Regions from separate parts of the Homo sapiens genome. Here region 1 is linked to region 2. Evidence: promoter capture Hi-C in human tissues and cell types (Jung and others, 2019). All regions are on one chromosome and are shown on one strand. Each heading gives the region's core, a stretch centred on a gene start or on the middle of the fragment in contact. The rest is flanking DNA. Distances are from core to core; before and after follow the strand shown. Region 1 holds the start of LOC102725159 (a long non-coding RNA gene). Region 2 holds the start of PLEKHH2 (pleckstrin homology, MyTH4 and FERM domain containing H2).

Region 1 (5,754 bases), core at 2,820-5,319, 210 kb after region 2:
ACTGATTAAGATGTCAGCCGAATAGATACTTAAGTATTTGAAAAATACAGAGAGTTTGTCAAAACCTCAGGAAGAGTCTAACAAATCCTTCCTGGGAGCCAAGGAAAATATTTTAAAATGGAACAGAGGTCGTCCCCAACCCAGGCACGAATTTTCTTCCTCCGAAAGATGAGCTGCCTGTGCAACTCCTGGAAGGCACAATCCCTCAATGGTGGTTGGAGTCAGGGCTGGCCCACACCTGCCTTCCCAGGCCACAGTGAAGGGGCTTGGGGTGAGCCTTGGAACAAGCAACCAGGCACCTCTCCCCTTCCTCTTACCCAGTTTCTGCTCTGCCTCCTCTGTCTGCCAGCTCCCTCCCCTTCTCAAAGCACCACACAGTGGAACCCAGTTGGGCTGCAGGTTACCTCCACACATTGCTCCAGACTCCAAATGTCTGACCTTCCTTCCTCAGCGCCTCCTCCATGCCTAAATCCGACCTGGGGATGTTTTGGCCAGCAGAAGTAATTTCTCAGCTCATTTACATTGTCTAATATCCCTCCTGCAGATATTTGTTTTAAAAACAACAACAGCAAGATGCATGTTAGCCCACATGAGTCTCTTAGAAATGGATAAGATTTTTTTTTTTTTGACAGAGTCTCACGCTGTGGCCCAGGCTGGAGTGCAGAGGCACGATCTCGGCTCCCTGCACCTCCACCTGCCGGTTCAAGTGATTCTCCTGCCTCAACCTCTTGAGTAGGGTAGCTGGGACTATAGGGGTGTGCCACCATGCCCGGCAATTTTTTTTTGTATTTTTAGTAGAGACAGGGTTTCACTGTTTTGGCCAAGCTGGTCTTGAACTCCTGGCCTCAGGTGATCTGCCCTCCTCAGCTTCCCAAAGTGCTGGGATTACAGGCATGAGCCACTGCGCACAGCTGGCAATGGCTAAGATTTTTTGATGATTCAACAACAACAACAAAAATGGGACAATGAAGCAATGTGCACAGTGACAGCGGAGAGGGCGAGTGAGGGGCAAGGCCGAAGGGCTGATCTGCCAGGAGTCCAGCATCTGTCCGAGCTGCTTTCAATCTCCTCAGGAGCTTGGGGCACAGACCTTCTTACCTCCTCTCCCTCAACCTCCCTCCTGCTTGGGGGCTTTGGCAACTGGGGTTGAGGTGGGAATGGAACTCTGGAGTTCTACTCACTGGCTTGCTCTCTCAATTTGACAACATATTGTGAAATATCGTACACAAATCAGCTTAAAGAACTCTCATGTACACACCACCAATTACCAAAAGCTTTGAAGCTTGATCCCCGCACTCCTACTGTGTCCCCTTTCTCCTTTCATCTCTCCCCGCTCCCCAGAGATAACCCCTCTCCTGAATTAGGTGTTTATCTTTCCCATTTTTTTCTGTATAATTTTGGGTCTTTATGGTGATAATTCAAACATTAAGCAATGGAAGTCACTTTCGTCTGCTGTTTTTCATACTCTCCCAGAACTCTAAGGGTTCCCCACAGCACGCCTGCGGCATACTGTCACCGAATTTCTTTCCCTCCACCTCCACTGACCTGGAATGTTCTTTCCGAGAACTTCTGGCCCCCATCATTGCAGGGGTACTTTGACAAGAAGACTGCTGTATGTTATTTGTTATTTTCACGTAAGGCATAAGTCATGTTAGTTTCACCTACAGCATGTGCGTGCATTGTGTACATAGTGAAAATAAACCCTGGTCAGATGCTTGAGGTCAGCCTCCCTCTCTGCCTGGTCTGTCTCGCTCCATCGTAATCACCTGTCTCATCTGCCAAAATCTAAGCTTTTCAACGGCCTTTTCATTGTCACATCCCAAATTCCAAGCCTGAAGGGTGTTCTGGGCTCCCCATAAGTGTTTGTTGGGTGCATGGTTGATTGAAGGAATGTATAGTGTGAGAATGGTAGCTTGAGGAGGAAAGTCTATGGGAACTTGTTAATGAAAGTGTACTTGTTCCTGCCTGACAGAAATGTAAGAAAAATTGAATGCAGTAAAAAATGGAGGTCAGACGAGGTGGTTCACCCTTGTAATCACAGCACTTTGGGATGCTGAGGTGGGTGGATCACTTGAGCCCAGGAGTTTGAGACCAACATGGTGAAACCCTGTCTCTACAAAAAATACAAAAATTAGCTGGGTGTGGTGGGGAGGCTGAGGTGGGAGGATTGCTTGAGCCTGAGAGGTTGAGGATGCAGTGAGCTGTGATCATGTCACTGCACTCCATCCTGGGTGATAGAGCGAGACCCAATCCAAAGAAAAAGAAATGATGGGGGACTTCCTGTTGCTTCTTTGTTTGGGCCTCAATGGTTTAAATGATTGAATTGTCAAAATAGGAGGAATTGAGATCTGCAGATGGTTAATACCATTCAAAGGTATCAGCCGACACCATGAAACATTGATTTTTTAATGTACATTCAAATATACCACCACTTCGACAATAACAACAACATGATGATGATGATGAGAGGGACTTCCTCTCAAAGCTCCCAGCAGCATTTTCCATCACTTTGTTGCATGAACTCTTCATCAAAATCAGATATGAGGAGAAGTATGCCAGATGTTAGTGAGGACTAAGATGTTGGTTAGAATTTTTCTCAGGGTGGTATCTTCATGAATATTGGGCATTAACTCTCAACAGCTGCTTCCCTCTCACATGCTGCAAGTGTCATGTCTGTTTGGCCTCAGGAGATATTAAGCCAGCTGCAGGGAAGAGAAAGTTAAAGGCAAAGAGTTTGCCCACTCCAGTCAGGTCTTCTCAGAGCACAGAGGTTTTTTTATAGAACTCTCTCCGGTCCAGAGTCTGGGTCTCTTTACCAGAAGCTGCTTGGCTTCAGGCTCCACCAGCCTGAGGTTGAGGTTCTCTGGGAAGGTGCCCCGGGAGAAGCCCCAAACCTCTCTCTGAAGGGAAGAGGAGATGGGCCCTTGTCAGCACTCCTATTTTCCCAAAGCCCTGAGGTTCCACCTGTGCAATCCCATCTGTTGCCAATTTGAGATTTAACCACGTCGGCTCTAAGAAGTTGCTCTCACCTGTTGGTTTCCTTCTTGTCTTCTCCTATGTTCTCAGCAGCTTCTAAAGGAGCCCCTCATCTCTCCTGTCTCCCACAGGGCCTCCAGGATAGATTGTTCTCCTCTGAAAGTGACAACAGCCTGTACTTCACCTACAGTGGCCAGCCCAACACCCTGGAGGTCAGAGACCTCAACTACCAGGTAGAGGCACGCCTGGGTTCAAGGGGAGAGGAGCAGGCAGGGACAGCCAGGAAATTCCCCGGGTGGAAATAAAAGGGTGGGCCCAACTTGCAGGCCCTCTGCCCGCAAGGACAGAGTCCAGTCCACATTGATGCCTCACGTGTCAGGTGCAATAGGTGTCATCAATGGCATATATCAGAGCTGGAGGTTGAGAGGCTTGAAAAGAGAATAAAACTGTTGTATAAACATAAAACAAAATGCGTGAACCTATAGAAAAATGTCTCTGGGACTCTTTTTAAACTATATTTTGAAATAACTTTAGATTTTGGAAAAAATTGCAAAAATAACACAGTGTTTCCATATACCCATTGTCCAGCTTCCCCTAATGTTAACATCTTGCATACCCATAGTATAATTATGAACACTAAGAAATGAACAATGTACAATGCTATTAACTACAGACTTTATTCAGATTTCATTAGTTATATATATATGTGTGTGTGTGTGTGTGTATATATATATATATATATATAATTTTTTTTTTGTAAAATGTACTATCCCTGGAGCTTATAAAACATCCAGAGTGCAAAGACAATGACTGACCTTTCAGAGGCACCCAGGAACCCCCTGGTCAGATTCAAGGATCCATATTCCCACAGCTCCCCAGGGACCCAGATGGGACATGGTGGGGTCTGGGATGGTGAACTTCAGAGGCCTGAGTCTGGCTTCCTGTGGGTGTGAGTTGGGACAAGCCAATGAGCCTTTCTCTGCTCTGCCACTTACCAGCTGTGTGACCTTGAGCAAGTTGCTTAACTGCCCTGAGCCTCATCTGTAAAACAAGGATTCTGAGCATATCTATGTTATAGATTTGCAGTGAGGATTGAATAAGGTGATGGATGTTAAGTGATTAACACAATGTCTTGCACATAGTAAACATCTGATAAATTATTAGTAAATTACTAGTATCAAGTGAAGACATTTTGCTTCGTGTTTTATTTTTATTTCTGTACCACTATTGCACATGATTTTCTTTTTTCCTTACTTTTTTTTTTGAGATGGAGTCTCATTCTGTCACCCAGGCTGGGATGCAGTGGTGCAATCTTGGCTGACTGCAATCTCTGCCTCCCAAATTCAAGTGATTCTCCTGCCTCAGCCTCCCAAGTAGCTGGGATTACAGGCAACCACCACCATGCCTGGCTAATTTTTGTATTTTTAGTAGAGGCGGGGTTTTACCATGTTGGCCAGGCTGGTCTCAAACTCCTGACCTCAGGTGATCCACCTGCCTCAGCCTTCCAAAGTGCTGAGATTACAGGCATGAGCCACCATGCCTGGCCTGTACATGCTTTTCATTCTTCTTATCTTCAGACCTAGAAACAGCAGCTACAGGTTCTCAGCATGGGTCCTGCTTCCGTGTTTGGTAGAACCTGGGTTGGGGCCTATTGTGTGTAGGTGAGGACATATCCTCTGTGGAGAGGGGCCACCTGGGGAACGAAGATGCTGAACAGAAGTTGCTGAAGCCCTCTGAACCATTCAGCTCTCTAAGGAACCTTCTGATATCTCCCCACAGGTGGACCTGGCCTCTCAGGTCCCTTGGTTTGAGCAGCTGGCTCAGTTCAAGATGCCCTGGACATCTCCCAGCTGCCAGAATTCTTGTGAGCTGGGCATCCAGAACCTAAGCTTCAAAGTGAGAAGTGGGCAGATGCTGGCCATCATAGGGAGCTCAGGTACCGGAAAGGCAAATCGCTGGGCAATGGTTTCTCTCCTGGGATACAGAATGGTCCTTTGGACAAATGGATGCTTCTTATGGAGCTCTTTGCTGACTAGTAGAATAATACAGCAGAATGGCTGAGAACACAGGTTCTGGGTCAGACAGACCTGGGCTCAAATCCTGGCTCCTCCATTTGCTGGCTTGAGGGTAGGTGCTGTTGTTAAGAGTCATGAGTGCGCCTCTTGTCCACCCGAGGCTGTGGCCAGAGCATCTGACTTTGGCTAACACCTGGACGGAGAGATCAGCAAACAGCTCCAGCATGTAATGTTCTTTTCAGACTCCTCCAGCCATGAGGGGCATTGGTTCAGGTTGTTCCTCCACAATCACATTCTGATTATGGCCAGACAGCCCCTGCCACACTCTCACCTCTCAGACAGCCTCTCCAGTGTCTTACTTAGCACAACTTTCACTCATCTGCAAAGAGCCAGGTTCTTGGAGTGCCTCAAATTGTCATTTCCATGGCCAAATTTAAAATGAGAGAATGTCTGAGCTGAAAGGGGGCTTGGGGAACAGAGGTCATTCTCATCATGTTCCACCTTTCTTTCTCCCTACCAGTTTGGAAGCATTTTCAGAGGAAGGTGTTCAAACTCCCTACTCCTCAGTGTGTCTAGAGTATCCTCCTGCACGCGCGCGTGCACACACACACACACACACACACACACACACACACTCCCCTCCATTTGACAGATGAGGAGACTCAAATCCAAAGAAATTGAGGGATTCTCGTAAGGACACATATTTAATGCAGAGCTAGAACTAGAACTTTGGTTTCATCATTCTCGGATCAAGACATTTCTC
Region 2 (6,028 bases), core at 3,178-5,677:
CCTCCCAAAGTTCTGGGATTACAAGCGTGAGCCACCCTGCCCAGCTTTCCTGTGTGATTTTAATGTCCAGTGTCTTTTTTTCTTTTTTTTAACTTCATGGGTCCTGAACAAACTATTACTGGCTCTCCCTCAGTCTGGTTCAACAATTCTTTTCCTCTTTTCAGTTGCCTTAAAATAAGTGGTGCTCAAAGTACCCACCTCTGTGCTTTTGTTATGCTTCTGTACACACTTGTTTTCTTTTCATGACCTTAGCAATGCCCATTAGTCTCTCACCTTCACCAGTTCTGGCACCACCTATGCTACCCCCAACCAATCTGTGATAGTGGGGGCCCAGCTCACCTGGGGAGGTGAGATTGAAGCAAATCCTGCCTTCGTTGCAGACCCAAAGGACTGAGCAAGCCAGTATGCTCTGGACACTGGGGACACATCAAAGAAACTGTTTTCCTGGTCCACCCCCACTGGGAGGGCCAGGATGCTTGTCTGTCTCCTTGTTTGTAGGGCCTCCTTCATGCCAAGGCTTTTCTGGTCTCCTAGGTTGCAGGTAAACAGCCTGGAGTGCCCAGACCTGTACCCTCCTCAGCTAGAGAGAGCTGTTCCTGCTAGCTCTATTCATTTTTCCAAATCTTCCCCTTGTCTTTGATATCTTTTCCCAGGTGCTGGGGTTTATACTTTCTCCGTGCCAGAAGCCACAAGCTTATTCTAGTGGAGATAGTGTCTCCGCCCTCCTTCTTTCTTTTTGGATTTTATGTGTGGTGGATTAAAGGATCAGATACTTATTCCCTGATATTTACCCAGCTCCGTACCTCTTTTCCCTTCAACCCCTCTGTCCTTGCTCCCAATGTGCCAAATGGCCACATGGCCAGCAATCATTCTACAATTTACAGTAATCTCCCCCTATGCAGAAGTATACGTTGAAATGTACACCCAAATTCAAACCTTCTCCCCAGCTCAGCCTGACTGATTTTCTCTTGGCTCTCTCCTGGATATTTCACTCGCACCTCAAGTTGTGCTCAGTACCTCCAAGCCAGATCTCATTCTTCTTGTTCCCTCTCCTTGCTTCCTTACTTTTGTAAATGGCACCATCATTTCCTGATAATGCAGACACAAAGCCTCCCTTCTAATCCGCCTTCTAATCAGCTGTTAGACCTTGTAGGTTCAATTTCTTGAAAGAAGTTGAGATGTATAAACAGTTCCTGATTTACGGTGGTTTGACTTATGATTTTTGCTAGATACTGGATATACATTAAAGAGCAAAAACAGTTGTTCTACTTTTCTGGCACTTACAGTCTTGTGGGGGGGAAAACAGACAAAATAATCACAAATAAACATAATATCACAATTTAGATTAATGCTTATAAAACAAAGGTGCCTATTGCTACTAACATTTTCTATCCCTGCTACCTAACGTAAAAACACAAAATTCAACATGTTTTTCTTTTTTAAAACATCTTTATTGAGATATAATTCAATAACATCCAGTTTATCCATTTAAATTGCGTATGTCCATGGCTTTTTGTATGTTCAAAGTTGTGTAATCATCACCATAAATGTTTTTATTATCGCAAAAATAAACCTCACTTGTCTTAGCCATCACCCCGATCCTTCCCAGCCCTAAGCAACCACCAATCCACTTATGTCTCTATGGATTTGCCTGTTCTGAACATTTCATGTAAATGGGATCCTACAGTATGTGCCTTTTAAATGACTGGCTTCTTTCATTAAGTATAATGTTTTCAAGGTTTATCAATGTTGTAGCATGTATCAGTACTTTATTTCTTTTTACCACTGAATAATATTCCATTGTACCATGTGTTTTTCTCAGCATAGACAAAGATAGGATGCTGTTCCGCTGTATTCTCCATACCCAGACAAATTCAGTTTGTCATGTTTCTAGAAAAAGGTGACAGTAAGTAAATATTGGCTAAGCCTTACAAGGGTGGCAGCCGTGTTTACAAAGCGGCTTTTCATGAGTGACTTTATTCACTCAGTTCTTTTAGTCTAATTAGTATTTCTGACTCACAAACGGAAGTGATTCTATTTTGGCATTCTTTCTCTCTTTCTCCTGCTTGGTCTCTACTGACTTGCTGTGTTAAATTATGCAAGTTACTGAAACTCTGTTTGTTTAACTCCTGCGTGCTCTATAAAATAAGCCCAGTCCAGTCTGCTTGTTTGCCAAAGCTGTTTGAAGACAATTTTTCATATGATATGCATCATCAGCTCCCACAGAAGGCAAAAGGAATTTGATGTGTGGGGGTAGTCTGGGATCCTGTTCAAAATTAATGCTCATCTGGAAGAAATATGAAAGCCTGATACTTGCTTACTGGACTTTTAGTTGTATTCACTTATTGCTTTTCCTCTGAGAAACTTTGAAAATCTTTATCTCTTTTGTGGTTTTTTCTTTCCTTTTTTTTGAGACAGAGTCTTGCTCTGTCACCCAATCTGGAGTGCAGTGGTGCGATCTCAGCTCACTGCAACTGCTGCCTTCCTGGCTCAAGCGATTCTCCTGTCTCAGCCTCCTGAATAGCTGGGATTACAGGCGTATGCCACCATGTTCAGCTAATTTTTGTATTTTTAGTAGAGATGGGGTTTCGATATGTTGGCCAGGATGGTCTCAAACTCCTGACCTCAAGTCATCTGCCCGCCTTGGTCTCCCAAAATGCTGGGATTACAGGCATGAGCCACTGTGCCCATCCTCTGTGTGTGTGTGTGTGTGTGTGTGTGTGTGTGTGTGTGTGTGTGTGTGTTTTATATAAGATGAGATAAAGTTAAAAAAAAAAAGATTGTAGTAGAAAAAGTTTTTCTGATACTCTCTATTGGCCAACTGTGAACCAAAGAGAATAATCTGTCTGACCTAGCTTTGTGACCTGGGGAACGATTATCCATAACATTCAGAATTCTCTTTATTTTACCCTGAGATTGACCTCTCCAGACCCTAAGTTGGGATGTAAAATTCACCTGGATTTAAATTATCACTAATTTACTTATGCAATATGCTCTGTGCTGAGGAGAATGCAAAAAAAAAAAAAAAACCACAAATCCTTGTTTTCAAAGTGCTCACAGTCTAAAAGAGATGTGAGGAGCTGTGCATAAGGCAGAGGGAGCTAAGCCCCAAGAGAGGCAAAAATCTAGATGTTCAGGGAGCAGAAACCAGAGAAGACCTTTTTTTTTTTTTTTGTCTCAGATGGAGTCTTGCTCTGTAGGCAGGCTAGAGTGCAGTGGTGCTATCTTGGCTCACTGCAACCTCCGCTTCCCAGGTTCAAGCGATTCTCCTGCCTCAGCCTCCCGAGTAGCTGGGACTACAGTCGTGCACCACCACGCCCAGCTAATTTTTGTATTTTTAGTACAGACCAGGTTTCACCATGTTGGCCAGGATGGTCTCGATCTCTTGACCTCGTGATCTGCCCTCCTCGGCCTCCCAAAGTGCTGGAATTACAGGCATGAGCCACTGCGCCCGGCCCAGAGACGACATTTCTGCCAGGTGGAGCGACAGACATAGTTACATGGAGAAGATGATGATGATGATGATGATGATAATGATGATGATTTGAGACAGGATCTCGCCCAGTCGCCCAGGATCCAGTGCAGTGGCATGATCGCGGCTCACTGCAGCCTCCATCTCCTGTGTTTAAGCAATCCTCCAGCCTTAGCCTCCTGAGTAGCTGGGACTACAAGTGAGCGCCACCAAGCCCAGCTAATTTTTTTTTTTTGTGTGTATATATATATATATATATATATATTTTTTTTTTTTTTTTGGTAGAGACAGGGTTTCACCATGTTGCCCAGGCTCGTCTCGAACTCCTGGCCTCAAGTGATCCACCTGCCTCGGTCCCCCAAAGTACTGGGATTACAGGCGTGAGCCACTGCGCCCGGTGAGAAGATTATTCTGAGCTTTTTGAAGTGGAGACAGGAAATAGCATGTAAACGCTCCTAGTGCCACTTCCTTCGGGTGGCGAGGTGCACAGCAGTAGTCTCAGGTGTGTGAAGGGCAGCTGTGAGAAATAAACCTGAAAAGACGGGATGGAGACCTTGAACACTAGACTAGGGAATCTGTTCTTGATAATTTAAGCAAACGGAAGCCAATGAAAGTCTTTGGCACACTGTTCATCAAAACTGCTCTTAAGGAAATTAACCTGGCAGGAAGATGAAGGGTGGATTGGCAAGAGGAGAGACTTCAGACTGGGAGACCAAGGGAGGGTGCTGCAACAGTCCAGGCAGACGGAGTGGAATGAAGGTGACCGGCCGCTGCAGCAAGCTCTGGAGTCTCGCAGTTGGGACGTTAGGGGTACCACTCCAGGACAGAGCTCCCTCCTGGGGCAGGGACTGGGAGGAGCCAAAGTTATAGCCACACCCCCGGTGACGCCCGGTGGTCGGCTGTGGTCTCCCATTGGCTACACCGGCTGCCAGTCCCTGGAGGAGGCGGTGCCCTTCCCCGCCCTCTCCGAGCTCGGCTTGAGGCGGGCGCGGGCTGAGAGTCCGGGGATCCCGGGGGCCAGTCGCGGCCGGGACATCGGGCGCTGCGGCCGGGGACCCGCTGCTGAGATAGACAGGTGAGAAAGCCCGGGGACGAGGGGCCACTCCAGAGTTCCTGCCACCCTGGGATCCCCGCCCCCTTGAGGGCGCCCCGTCCAGGGGGGCTCGCGGGGCCGAGGTTTGGGGCGCCGGGAGGAGCGGGAAGGCGGGGACGAGAGGGACGGAGCGGGCTGACTCGGGATCCGCCGCTGCACCTCCCGCCACAGCCCAGAGTCGGCCCCCAAGTCTGGATGTCGCCGGGAGAGGTGGGCAGGGGGCGGTGGCCGGCGGTCCCTCGCGCCCGTGGGCTCCCGTGACGTTCTGTTTGGAAACACTGGGCCCGGGCTTCTGGCGCGGCGCGAGCGGTCCCGGGGGCGCAGCGGGGCAGCCCAGGGTCCCCGAGCCGAGGGACCCGCGCGGTCAGGGATGCCGCGCTCGCCTTAGGCTTCGGGAGATCCACCAGGATCTCCGGGGCGAAACTTTAAACTCAAAACTTTAAAGAAGCATTTTGTACACCTCGAGTTGCTGGCACGTCAAAGCACCCTAAGGTGACCTACCCGGAAACCACTGTCCCCGAAGTTAGTGGGGCACTTTTTAAAGGACAACACTTTTTACCCGTCGATATTGTTGTGCGTAACGCTGTGGAAATAGAAGTCGAACCACTTACATTGGAAAAGCTCTGGTGGTGGGCTACCTGAGGGTCACTGCTTTCTTTGTGAAAATGCCAGTCTTGGAAGCCTGGCCCGCACAGCGGTGTGTCCCAGAGGAGTATGTAGTGAGGAGCTCGGCTGTTCTGGGCAGGGTCACCGAAGGGCAGGCGTTGCCCAAGTGGGGCTAGGTGGCTAGGTGGTGGTCAGAAGGTTCCTTAAACAAGGCATGCCTCAGTCTCGTCGAGAAAGATCTTTTAACACACACACACACACACACACACACACACACACACACACTCACACACACGATTACCCAGCCCAGTTAAGCTGTCCCTTAAGAGGCAAAAACTAAAGAATATCATAGAGACTAACGCTGCGCTTCATCAGGGTAAGCCTAAGTAGAATAATTCTTTCATTTCTTTTTCTTTCCTTTTTGGGATTTGGAAGAGAAACAGGAAGTCAGAGATTCAGAGAAAAGAGCATTCACTCCACAATTGTAAACAGTTTATCTTATGTCAGTAAATACTTCCAAAAATCACTGGGGGTATTTGGAACTCCAAGACTTTTTCCTGTCCCCTGAAGTGAAGATAGATTATTTTCAAATGCAGAATCTAGACATGATAGATTCCTTTCAAATTCAGAATCTATATGTGGTATTTTCTTTATTTAGCAGTCGGCTATGTTATATAGTTATATATATATTCCCAATGTTATATAGTTCTATAACATTAGTGGTAATGAAAAGGATGGCGGATATTGTTTAAAATTAGAATTTTTAACTACCCAAGATGGTGCACTAATACAACAGTTGCTTTGTACTTGTTAACTAACTGAAATTACAGAATGAAATGAGGGAATCAGGTGTCTGG

The links. Contacts are between HindIII fragments. The study calls those that stand out against the background at their distance.
Region 1: a fragment that was not itself captured here is called in contact with the fragment with the promoter of PLEKHH2 in region 2 in 1 of the 25 tissues and cell types used here (IMR-90 fibroblasts).

The regions. Positions count from the first base shown.
Region 1 is chr2:43,841,400-43,847,153 of GRCh38, forward strand. It overlaps ABCG8 (ATP binding cassette subfamily G member 8), which reads left to right. Exons shown (of 13, transcript NM_022437.3): 2 at 3,108-3,209; 3 at 4,756-4,912. It overlaps LOC102725159 (a long non-coding RNA gene), which reads right to left and starts at 3,121. Exons shown (of 2, transcript XR_940032.4): 1 at 3,030-3,121; 2 at 2,388-2,702. The HindIII fragment of the contact is 5,067 bases long and covers 1,537-5,754 here.
Region 2 is chr2:43,632,833-43,638,860 of GRCh38, forward strand. It overlaps PLEKHH2 (pleckstrin homology, MyTH4 and FERM domain containing H2), which reads left to right and starts at 4,428. Exons shown (of 30, transcript NM_172069.4): 1 at 4,428-4,547. RefSeq lists a silencer at 4,332-4,661. The HindIII fragment of the contact is 17,439 bases long and covers 1-6,028 here.